2 separate regions of the Homo sapiens genome follow, and region 2 is linked to region 1. Evidence: promoter capture Hi-C in 16 types of primary human blood cells and fetal thymus (Javierre and others, 2016). All regions are on one chromosome and are shown on one strand. Each heading gives the region's core, a stretch centred on a gene start or on the middle of the fragment in contact. The rest is flanking DNA. Distances are from core to core; before and after follow the strand shown.

Region 1 (4,339 bases), core at 1,629-4,128:
AAAAAAAAAAAAAAAAAAAAAAGGCCGTTTTAAAAAACATCATCATCATAACCACGATCAACATTATTGCCATCATCATTGCTAATATTTATTAGAAGTTTACTCTGTACTGGGTTATATGCTTTACAAACAAGAGTTTTATTTGCTCCTTACAACAACCCTATGAGGTAGATGCTGTTATTATCTCCATTCTGTCTAAAGCTTAATAAGGTTAAGTAACTTGACCAATGCCTAACTAGTAGCTGCCAGATCCCGGAATTGAAACCAGGCTAACTTAGTTTAAAGCCCTTGCTCCCAACTTTTATGTTCCCGAAGCCCACTTAATTCATTTAAATTTGGTATAAATTGACTTTAATTATGGCCTTTTTGTTAGAATCCATTATAGTCTTCTCTTTTATCAACAAATGTTGGATAAAGTATGCATTCAGGGAGGCTGGGCATGGTGGCTCACACCTGTAATCCAAGGAGGCTGGGCATGGTGGTTCACACCTGTAATCCCAGCACTTTGGGAGGCCGAGGCAGGCGGATCATAAGGTCAGGAGTTCGAGACCAGCCTGGCCAACATGGTGAAACTCCGTCTCTACTAAAAATACAAAAATTAGCTGGGCATGGTGGCGGGCGCTTGTAATCCCAGCTACTTGGGAGGCTGAGGCAGGAGAACCAATTGTTTGAACCCGGGAGATGGAGGTTGCAGTGAGCCGAGATAGTGCCATTGCACTCTAGCCTGGGTAACAGGGCGAGATTCCGTCTCAAAAAAAAAAAAAAAAAGGGCATTCAAGGAATAGGAAGACAAAGTATAATGGAAAAGTAAATGAACAAAAAGGATTTAAAAAAACAAATCCCAACTGTCAGATTAGTGGACAGTGAACCAATGCTCTGAGTTTGTTCATCAATCTGTGGTAGAACTACAATTGTTTCCTAAAGAGTGGAAAGGCTTTGAATAAAAGTGGAGAGGTAGAGAGGGCTCTCCCAGGACAGGTTGATTGCTTCCGCAAAGGCAAAGGGTCTGTAAAGTGCTAGGCGAGTGGGAACAAGTGGGAATAGTTCTGTTTGACTACATTTGAGGGTTTGAGAAAGGAAAGGGAGGGTAGAAGGGATGGAAGTGGGAATCACATATGTTTAATGATGTCTTGTTCGGTGCCAAGGACAGTTTTAGACCCTGATAAGCGGAAAGCTTTGAATACTCAGGAGGTGAATTTGGGTCATTTCATCTCCTCTCTTAGCTGCTGTATGACCCTGTGCCATCCTATTTATGTTTCATTTTCCTATCTGCAAAAAGGGAGTAATTCTTGTTCCCTTGGGTTTTCTCCTAGTCATAAAAAATGAATGAGTTCGGCCACAGTACACAAACAAAAGGAAAATATGTAATATTTTGTAGGATAAATTCATAAAAGTTGTGGAGGATCTGGGCACTTTTATAAAGCAAGCACTGTAGAAAACTTTCAAAGGAAACATTTAAATTCACTAATGACAGCTATAGGGATCCTGATTTTTCCTTTAAATGGCAGGCACTTCAAAAAATTAAAATAGAATGTAGTTAGCTTTCAATTACTTAGGCCACTGACAATTCAATTTATGGATTATATAGTATTTTAATTTACTCATTTCACACGTCGTTATCAACTCTACATGAAGTTTAAAAGGACAAAGGATGCAAGTGGAATTGGTCAGTGTTCCGGGTTATTTCCAAGGGAGGCAGAGGGTGGGGGGTTTCCTTTGAGACAAGACTTGGGGTTGGCCAATAATTGCTGGTATTGCCTGCCTGGTAATAACAGGCTGATGAAAAGGTGACTACAACGTGAAAACTGGTTAAATCAAGCGCACCCTCCCACCCTCGTTTTAGATGAGGAATTTTCCGCCCTCACAGAAGGGGCTGAGGCAGCATCTGGCATCACAACACTAACATTTGCTTCGTGATTTCCTCTTTACCCGGCCCTTTGACACACATCCCTTCCCAGAAATCAGGATTCGCTGGTGCTTTTGCATTTCTAAAATGGGAATCCCGTGGCTGAGCTTTTAGCCGGCCGGAACGACTGAGGGCTGCATCCCTTTCCCGCAGGAGCGGGGCTCCCGCCTCCAGTTCTGTTCCAGGCCTGACTCCTCCACTCCCTCCGTGACTCATGTCCTGCGGATCCTTCGCCCCCGACGCGCCCCCCAACACACAAACCCCCAGAATCCGCCCCCAGCCTACAGCGCGACGTCAGCCCGCCCCAGCCGACTTGGAGGTCTCGGGTCTGAGTCACACAGAAAGACCACCCTCGTCGGCATCCCCACACACAGTCCGACACCCGGCGCGCCGGCCTCCCCGCCTGACACACTAACGCCCGTCGTCTCCGCGCAACTTGTTATGCTCCGGCTCGAGCCCTTGACCCAAAACCCTCAGCGAAACGGAGAGCCGCAGAGCCGGCCTCGGGCGGCCTTTGATGGCTTTGTTATTGTTTGGGTTTGAATCGATACGCCCCTCCCCATCCTTCCTCCCTCGCGGCCCTACACCCAGCTCCCGCCTCCCCTCACGCCCCGCGCCCCTCCCCCTCCATTTTGGCGCCTTTTCCTTCCCGCCACGTCGTGGCGGCGTAGAGACCATTCTGACCGCGAGAGCTGGGCGGGGCGGGGGCGGGGCGCGCCGAGTTATGCAGATCAATCGGCCTCTGGTTGGCTGGAGTAGCGCTGGCAGGGGCGGGGCCGGGGCGCGGCCACAGAGCGCGCGGGGCGGGGGCCGAGGGGAGTCGCCCAGTCCCGCCGCTTCCCCACCCCCTCTCCTCCCTCGGCCGGCCCGGCAGCCCTGCTCCCCGCCTTGGCCTCCCGGAGAGGCCCCGCCCCGTCCCCGCCCGCCGCGCCCTCCCCGCGCGCCCTCCCCGCCGGCGCGCTCCTCCCCTTTACTCCTGGCTGCGGGGCGAGCCGGGCGTCTGCTGCAGCGGCCGCGGTGGCTGAGGAGGCCCGAGAGGAGTCGGTGGCAGCGGCGGCGGCGGGACCGGCAGCAGCAGCAGCAGCAGCAGCAGCAGCAACCACTAGCCTCCTGCCCCGCGGCGCTGCCGCACGAGCCCCACGAGCCGCTCACCCCGCCGTTCTCAGCGCTGCCCGACCCCGCTGGCGCGCCCTCCCGCCGCCAGTCCCGGCAGCGCCCTCAGTTGTCCTCCGACTCGCCCTCGGCCTTCCGCGCCAGCCGCAGCCACAGCCGCAACGCCACCCGCAGCCACAGCCACAGCCACAGCCCCAGGCATAGCCTTCGGCACAGCCCCGGCTCCGGCTCCTGCGGCAGCTCCTCTGGGCACCGTCCCTGCGCCGACATCCTGGAGGTTGGGATGCTCTTGTCCAAAATCAACTCGCTTGCCCACCTGCGCGCCGCGCCCTGCAACGACCTGCACGCCACCAAGCTGGCGCCCGGTGAGAGCACCCCCCGCCTCCGGCCCGGGGATGCGGGGCGGCGGCGGGATCTCCTGGGTGGGGAGCTGGCGGCTCGCGGGCCGGCACTGAGTCCCCGTGCTTCCCCCTTTCCTAGGCAAGGAGAAGGAGCCCCTGGAGTCGCAGTACCAGGTGGGCCCGCTACTGGGCAGCGGCGGCTTCGGCTCGGTCTACTCAGGCATCCGCGTCTCCGACAACTTGCCGGTGAGTGGGCGCCCCGCGGTGGGGAGGGCGCGCCGGGCGGGGGGCGCACGGGCGTGCTTTAGCCCGGACGAGGGAACCTGACGGAGACCCTGGGCTTCCAGGTGGCCATCAAACACGTGGAGAAGGACCGGATTTCCGACTGGGGAGAGCTGGTGAGTGCCCTGCAGGAGCGACCCCCAGGATGAGTGGGTGGGGTGAGGGGCGCCCCCGACTCCCGCCCTAACGCGGCCCCCTCGCCCCTGCAGCCTAATGGCACTCGAGTGCCCATGGAAGTGGTCCTGCTGAAGAAGGTGAGCTCGGGTTTCTCCGGCGTCATTAGGCTCCTGGACTGGTTCGAGAGGCCCGACAGTTTCGTCCTGATCCTGGAGAGGCCCGAGCCGGTGCAAGATCTCTTCGACTTCATCACGGAAAGGGGAGCCCTGCAAGAGGAGCTGGCCCGCAGCTTCTTCTGGCAGGTGCTGGAGGCCGTGCGGCACTGCCACAACTGCGGGGTGCTCCACCGCGACATCAAGGACGAAAACATCCTTATCGACCTCAATCGCGGCGAGCTCAAGCTCATCGACTTCGGGTCGGGGGCGCTGCTCAAGGACACCGTCTACACGGACTTCGATGGTGAGCCAGGCCCGGGAGGGAGCTGCCCAGGTGACTCGGCCCGGCCCGGCCCAGTCCGGAGGCCTCGGCCAGTCTCCCGCGCCAGCCTTTTGTAAAGGTCATTGGGCCGCCTGGCTCGATG
Region 2 (4,728 bases), core at 702-3,201, 160 kb before region 1:
GACGGCATCATGGTTATGCAAGAAACCCTCTTGTTTTCACAGATGGCCACTAAAGCATTTAACAGTGAAGTTACTTGCCTTATATAGTTTGCCACGAAGTCTAGGATGTCCTTTAAGATCTTTGGCAAAGAAGAATGCTAGTAATTGTTAAACCTAGTGATGTATTGATTGCTTAAAACATTTATAATAAACTGTTGTTTTTTTTTAAGATAATAATAGCCAGGTTCGGTGGCTCATGCCTGTAATCCCAGCACTTTGGGAGGCCAAGGTGGGTGGATCACTTGAGCTTAAGAGTTTGAGACCACTCTGGGCAACATGGTAAAACCCCATCTCTACCAAAAATACAAAACTTAGCCGGGCATGGTAGCAGGCACCTGTAGTCCCAGCTACTCAGGAGGCTGAGGTTGGAGGATTGCTGGAGCCCGGAAAGTCGAGGCTGCAGTGAGCCATGATTGTGCCACTGCACTCCAGCCTGGGTGACAGAGAGAGACCCTGACTTAAAAAAAAAAAAAAAAGAAAGAAAAGAAAAGAGAAGGATATAACCCTATGAGATCGCCTGCCATCATTCCAATTTTTTTCAATGAGAAAATCAGGGTACAAAGATGCTAAGTGACTTACCTGGGAACACAGCTAGCATGATTTGTGCATCCCAGGAGTCAGGCTCAGGAAGCCTCACTCCCAGGCCATGGCCATGGCTCCCTGCTGCTCTGCTCTAGCAGGCCCTGCCATGGGATGATCCTGGAAAAGTTCTGTGTGTGTGTGTGTGTGTGTGTGTATACATATATATACGTGTATATATATGTATATATATTATTTTTTTTCAGTGTGAGGGGCATGGAATGAGGTTTCACCATGCTGCTCAGGCTGGTCTTGAACTCCTGGGCTCAACCTGCCTGCCTGCCTCAGGCCTTGCAGAGTGCTGCGAGTACAGGTGTAAGCCACTGTGGCTGGCCAATCCTGGAGAAGTTCGTACCCCTCTGAGCCTCCACTTCCTCACCTCTATGATGGGCTAGTGGCTGCCCCCACCTACAGGGTTGTGAGAATTACATGGAATGAGACATGCATCATGTCCTGGGTAGTGCTTGGTAGGTAGCCCTCGTTATTGTTACATAATGAAGCACTGAGCAGTTACTGAACACCTGCTGTGGGCCCAACACTGTGCCGGGCCTTGTGGATGAGGCCAACCTGGGACCAGAACAGCCTTTGGCCTCAGGAGGCTCACAGTCTAAGGAGTAGAGGGGCGCATGTGAGGATGACACCCCCGTACCCCGCCCACACCCAGAATTGCCGTGGAAAGTTTGCTTTGGGGGATTCAGGGAGCCTGGCCTCACCTGGCCCTATCTAGAGTCGAGAGGAGGTCTCTAGGCTGAGGGCAATCCCTGTGCCCCTCCTGCAGGACAGCTAACCCCCGCATCGGTGACGTGATCCAGAAGCTGGCCCCCTTCCTGAAGATGTACAGTGAGTATGTCAAGAACTTTGAGCGAGCGGCTGAGCTGCTGGCCACCTGGACCGACAAGTCTCCACTCTTCCAGGAGGTTCTCACTCGCATCCAGGTGAGGCTGGGGGAGGGCTGGAGTCAGCATTGCCACTCCCAGCATGCAGTGGCTCAGGTTGCCTTGAGTGATTCCGGGCATCTCCCAGGCTCAGCTGCTTCCATAGGCCCCTGCCTACTCGTCCGGCCCTCAGGAGCAGCCTGACCCACCTCCCTTCTCTCACCCTCTCCGTGTTGCTCCCCCATCCCTCCCCAAGAGCAGCGAGGCTTCGGGCAGCCTGACCCTGCAGCACCACATGCTGGAACCAGTGCAGAGAATTCCACGTTACGAGCTGCTGCTCAAGGAGTACATCCAGAAGCTGCCAGCCCAGGCCCCAGACCAGGCCGATGCCCAGAGTGAGGACACCCCCAGGGGTCCCAGGGGGCTGAGGAGGCCTAAGCCATTCCCATATACTTACTGAGCTCCTGCTAAAATGGTTTTGACGACCATCAGTCATCAACATCAACCACTGGCACTTCATAGACATCATCCATACCATTAGCCATTTTTCACAGATGAGGACACTAAGGCCCAGAGAGGTTTAGTGACTTGCTCAAGGTCACGCAGCCAGAGAGTAGCAGAACTGGGATTTGAACCCATGCCTATGTGATACCAAAGCCCATGCTCCTTCCATTATACCCTCTAGGTCTGGCTTGTTTTGGGAAGCAGTGAGAGTCACCAAAGCCAAACACCTAATGGCTAACGTTCAGTGGCTTCCAGTCTCTCAGCCCTGGGGGGCTCCCGCCATTCAGACACCCCATGGCTGGGCTGCACAGGCAGGGCTGCTCCTGGGGGCTGTCATGGCAGGTCCTGAGGGCCCTTTGTTGAACTTCAAGGACCTCCTGCCCCAGCCACCAGCCCTAGATTCTCAGGGAATAAACTCCGGCCCTGCCCCTTTCAGAAGCCCTGGACATGATCTTCTCAGCTGCCCAGCACTCCAATGCAGCCATCACTGAGATGGTAAGCAGCCCGCCCTCTCCTGGAGCCCTGTCCCCCTCCCTGCAGGTCTCAGCCTGGTCCCACCCATGACACCTATCCCACTGCTGCCCTCACTGTTACCCCCCAGTCCCCGTCCCCACAAGGCAAGCCTTCCAGAAGCAGGTGAGCCCTGCCCAGACTTGGCTGAGGATGCACCCCAACCCCCTAGGAGCGGCTGCAGGACCTGTGGGAGGTGTACCAGCGCCTGGGCCTCGAGGACGACATAGTAGACCCCTCTAACACCCTGCTCCGTGAGGGCCCGGTCCTCAAGATCTCCTTCCGCCGCAACGACCCCATGGAGCGCTACCTTTTCTTGGTAAGAGGGTGCTGGGAGCTCCTCTCCACACTGGGGAGGGAAGTCCATGGGCCACTCTGGCCCGAGTCATACTGCCTGGCCTCTACCTGGCACTGCAGGGGGACAGGGAAGAGAACGCTTCTCTGTCTTTTTCTGCTTTGGCACCCAGATGACTTTGGACAGGTCACCTGCTGCCTCTAAGCCTCAGAGATTTCCAACCCACAGGTTTCCCAGACATGTCCTAGGAAGCAACAGAGTCAGAGTTTGAACCCAGTCTGACTGCAAAGCCTGTGATATTAATCTGTGCTCTAGAGAGCGCACAGCAGGAAGGAGTAAGGTTAGCTACTAGGAAGAACTGCCCTGGGTTTGCACGGAAGAAGCCGGGGGATCTCCTGACACCTGGAAAGGTGGTCCTGCCTGGAGGTCTGGGGAACAGAGATATAACCTCTTGTAAACCCCTGCCATCCTGAGCCCCTGTTGAGAAAGGCCTTGTAGGTTTCTGAGGTCTGCTATGGTCCCTTGTAGGGTGACCCTTCAGTAACCATCCTAGGGGAATTGGGAGCTTGACAGCCCCTTCCTCATCACCTACATCATCACCTGTGATGTCCTGTGAGCAGGCTGGCCAGAGTGTGTTCAAAGGGGAGCGGGTCCAGTGGTGCTCAGCCCATGCTCGGCCCACCCTCGGGGAAACCCCACCTAGCCATCCTCCCTGCCCCTGCCACGGGCCACTCACGCCTGTGTCTCCTGCAGTTCAACAACATGCTGCTCTACTGTGTGCCCAGGGTGATCCAGGTGGGCGCCCAGTTCCAGGTGAGGACCCGCATCGATGTGGCCGGGATGAAGGTAAGAGGCCCCCTAAACACCACTGGGCTCCACCTCAAGGGTAGGACTGAGTACAGGGAGTAAGAGGAGGGGCCAACCAGGTTCTCAATCACAGAACCAAACCCTTGCAGGGCCTGGGCAAACATGGAGATGGAAGAGTGTGGGGCTCTCCCCTCTGGGATCCTAGCCCTCCTGCCCTGTCCTTCCCAGCTTCCCACAGGTTTGGCCCTCCCTTCGCGGCAGTGCATGAGCCAGCTTGGCCTTTCTGTGCTTTCCCTACTGTTTATACCACTGCTTCAAAAACTTTCATGTGTGCGCGAATCCTCTGGGCATCTTGTAAAAATGCAGGTTCTGAATCAGGAGGTCTGGGTGGGGGGGTGCCTGAGATCCTGCATTTCTAACCAGCTCCCAGTTAAGATGGGCTGACAACTGACCCCACCTGCAGGATTGTGAGAATTAAATGAAATGAGACATATCCTGGGCAGTGTATGCTGATACTGTAGGAGCACAGAACACGTTTTGAGTAGGAAAGGTCTCCAGTGTCAGCTCAGCGGCTGGCTTGTGTGTGTCCCCATCTACCTCATCCAGAGATTATGGCAAATGAGCAGGGCCAGTAGTCCATGATGGAGCCCATGGGGGGACCACAAGATCCTCCTAACAGCCCCATGATGCAGGGGCTGTTAGAATCTTCTGGATTTTTTTTTTTTTTTTTGAGACCGAGTCTCACTCTGTTGCCCAGGCTGGAGTGCAACAGCAAAATCTCGGCTCACTGCAACCTCCACCTCCTGGGTTCGAGCAATTCTCCTGCCTCAGCCTCCCAAGTAGCTGGGACTGTAGGCGCGAGCCCCCATGCCCGGCCAATTTTTGTATTTTTGGTAGGAGAGATGGGGTTTCACCATGTTGCCCAGGCTGGTCTCAAACTCCTGACCTCAAGTGATTCACCTGGCTTGGCCTCCTAAAGTGCTGGGATTACAGGCATGAGCCACCACACCCAGCCTGTTTTTTATCTTTTAAAAATATTTTAATTTTACTACTTAAAAAATACAGATTATACACATTCTAAAGTCAAACAATATAAAAAATATATACAATGAAAGTCTC

What was found. Contacts are between HindIII fragments. The CHiCAGO score rates a contact against its expected background, and 5 or more counts as called.
Region 2: a contact is called between a fragment that was not itself captured here and the fragment with the promoter of PIM1 in region 1, in 17 of 17 cell types (activated CD4 T cells, naive CD8 T cells, total CD8 T cells and 14 more). The highest score is 18.3, in activated CD4 T cells.

The regions. Positions count from the first base shown.
Region 1 is chr6:37,167,274-37,171,612 of GRCh38, forward strand. PIM1 (Pim-1 proto-oncogene, serine/threonine kinase) reads left to right here and starts at 2,879. Exons shown (of 6, transcript NM_002648.4): 1 at 2,879-3,384; 2 at 3,500-3,606; 3 at 3,708-3,758; 4 at 3,852-4,218. The coding sequence starts at 3,303. RefSeq lists an enhancer at 2,124-2,722 and silencers at 2,348-3,127, 3,388-3,707. The HindIII fragment of the contact is 5,698 bases long and covers 1,173-4,339 here.
Region 2 is chr6:37,012,213-37,016,940 of GRCh38, forward strand. FGD2 (FYVE, RhoGEF and PH domain containing 2) reads left to right here. Exons shown (of 16, transcript NM_173558.4): 5 at 1,397-1,553; 6 at 1,750-1,888; 7 at 2,434-2,492; 8 at 2,680-2,826; 9 at 3,556-3,648. Among named protein-coding and RNA genes, the nearest start is that of FGD2, 8.9 kb to the left of the region's middle. RefSeq lists enhancers at 1-158, 1,589-2,306. The HindIII fragment of the contact is 6,835 bases long and covers 1-4,728 here.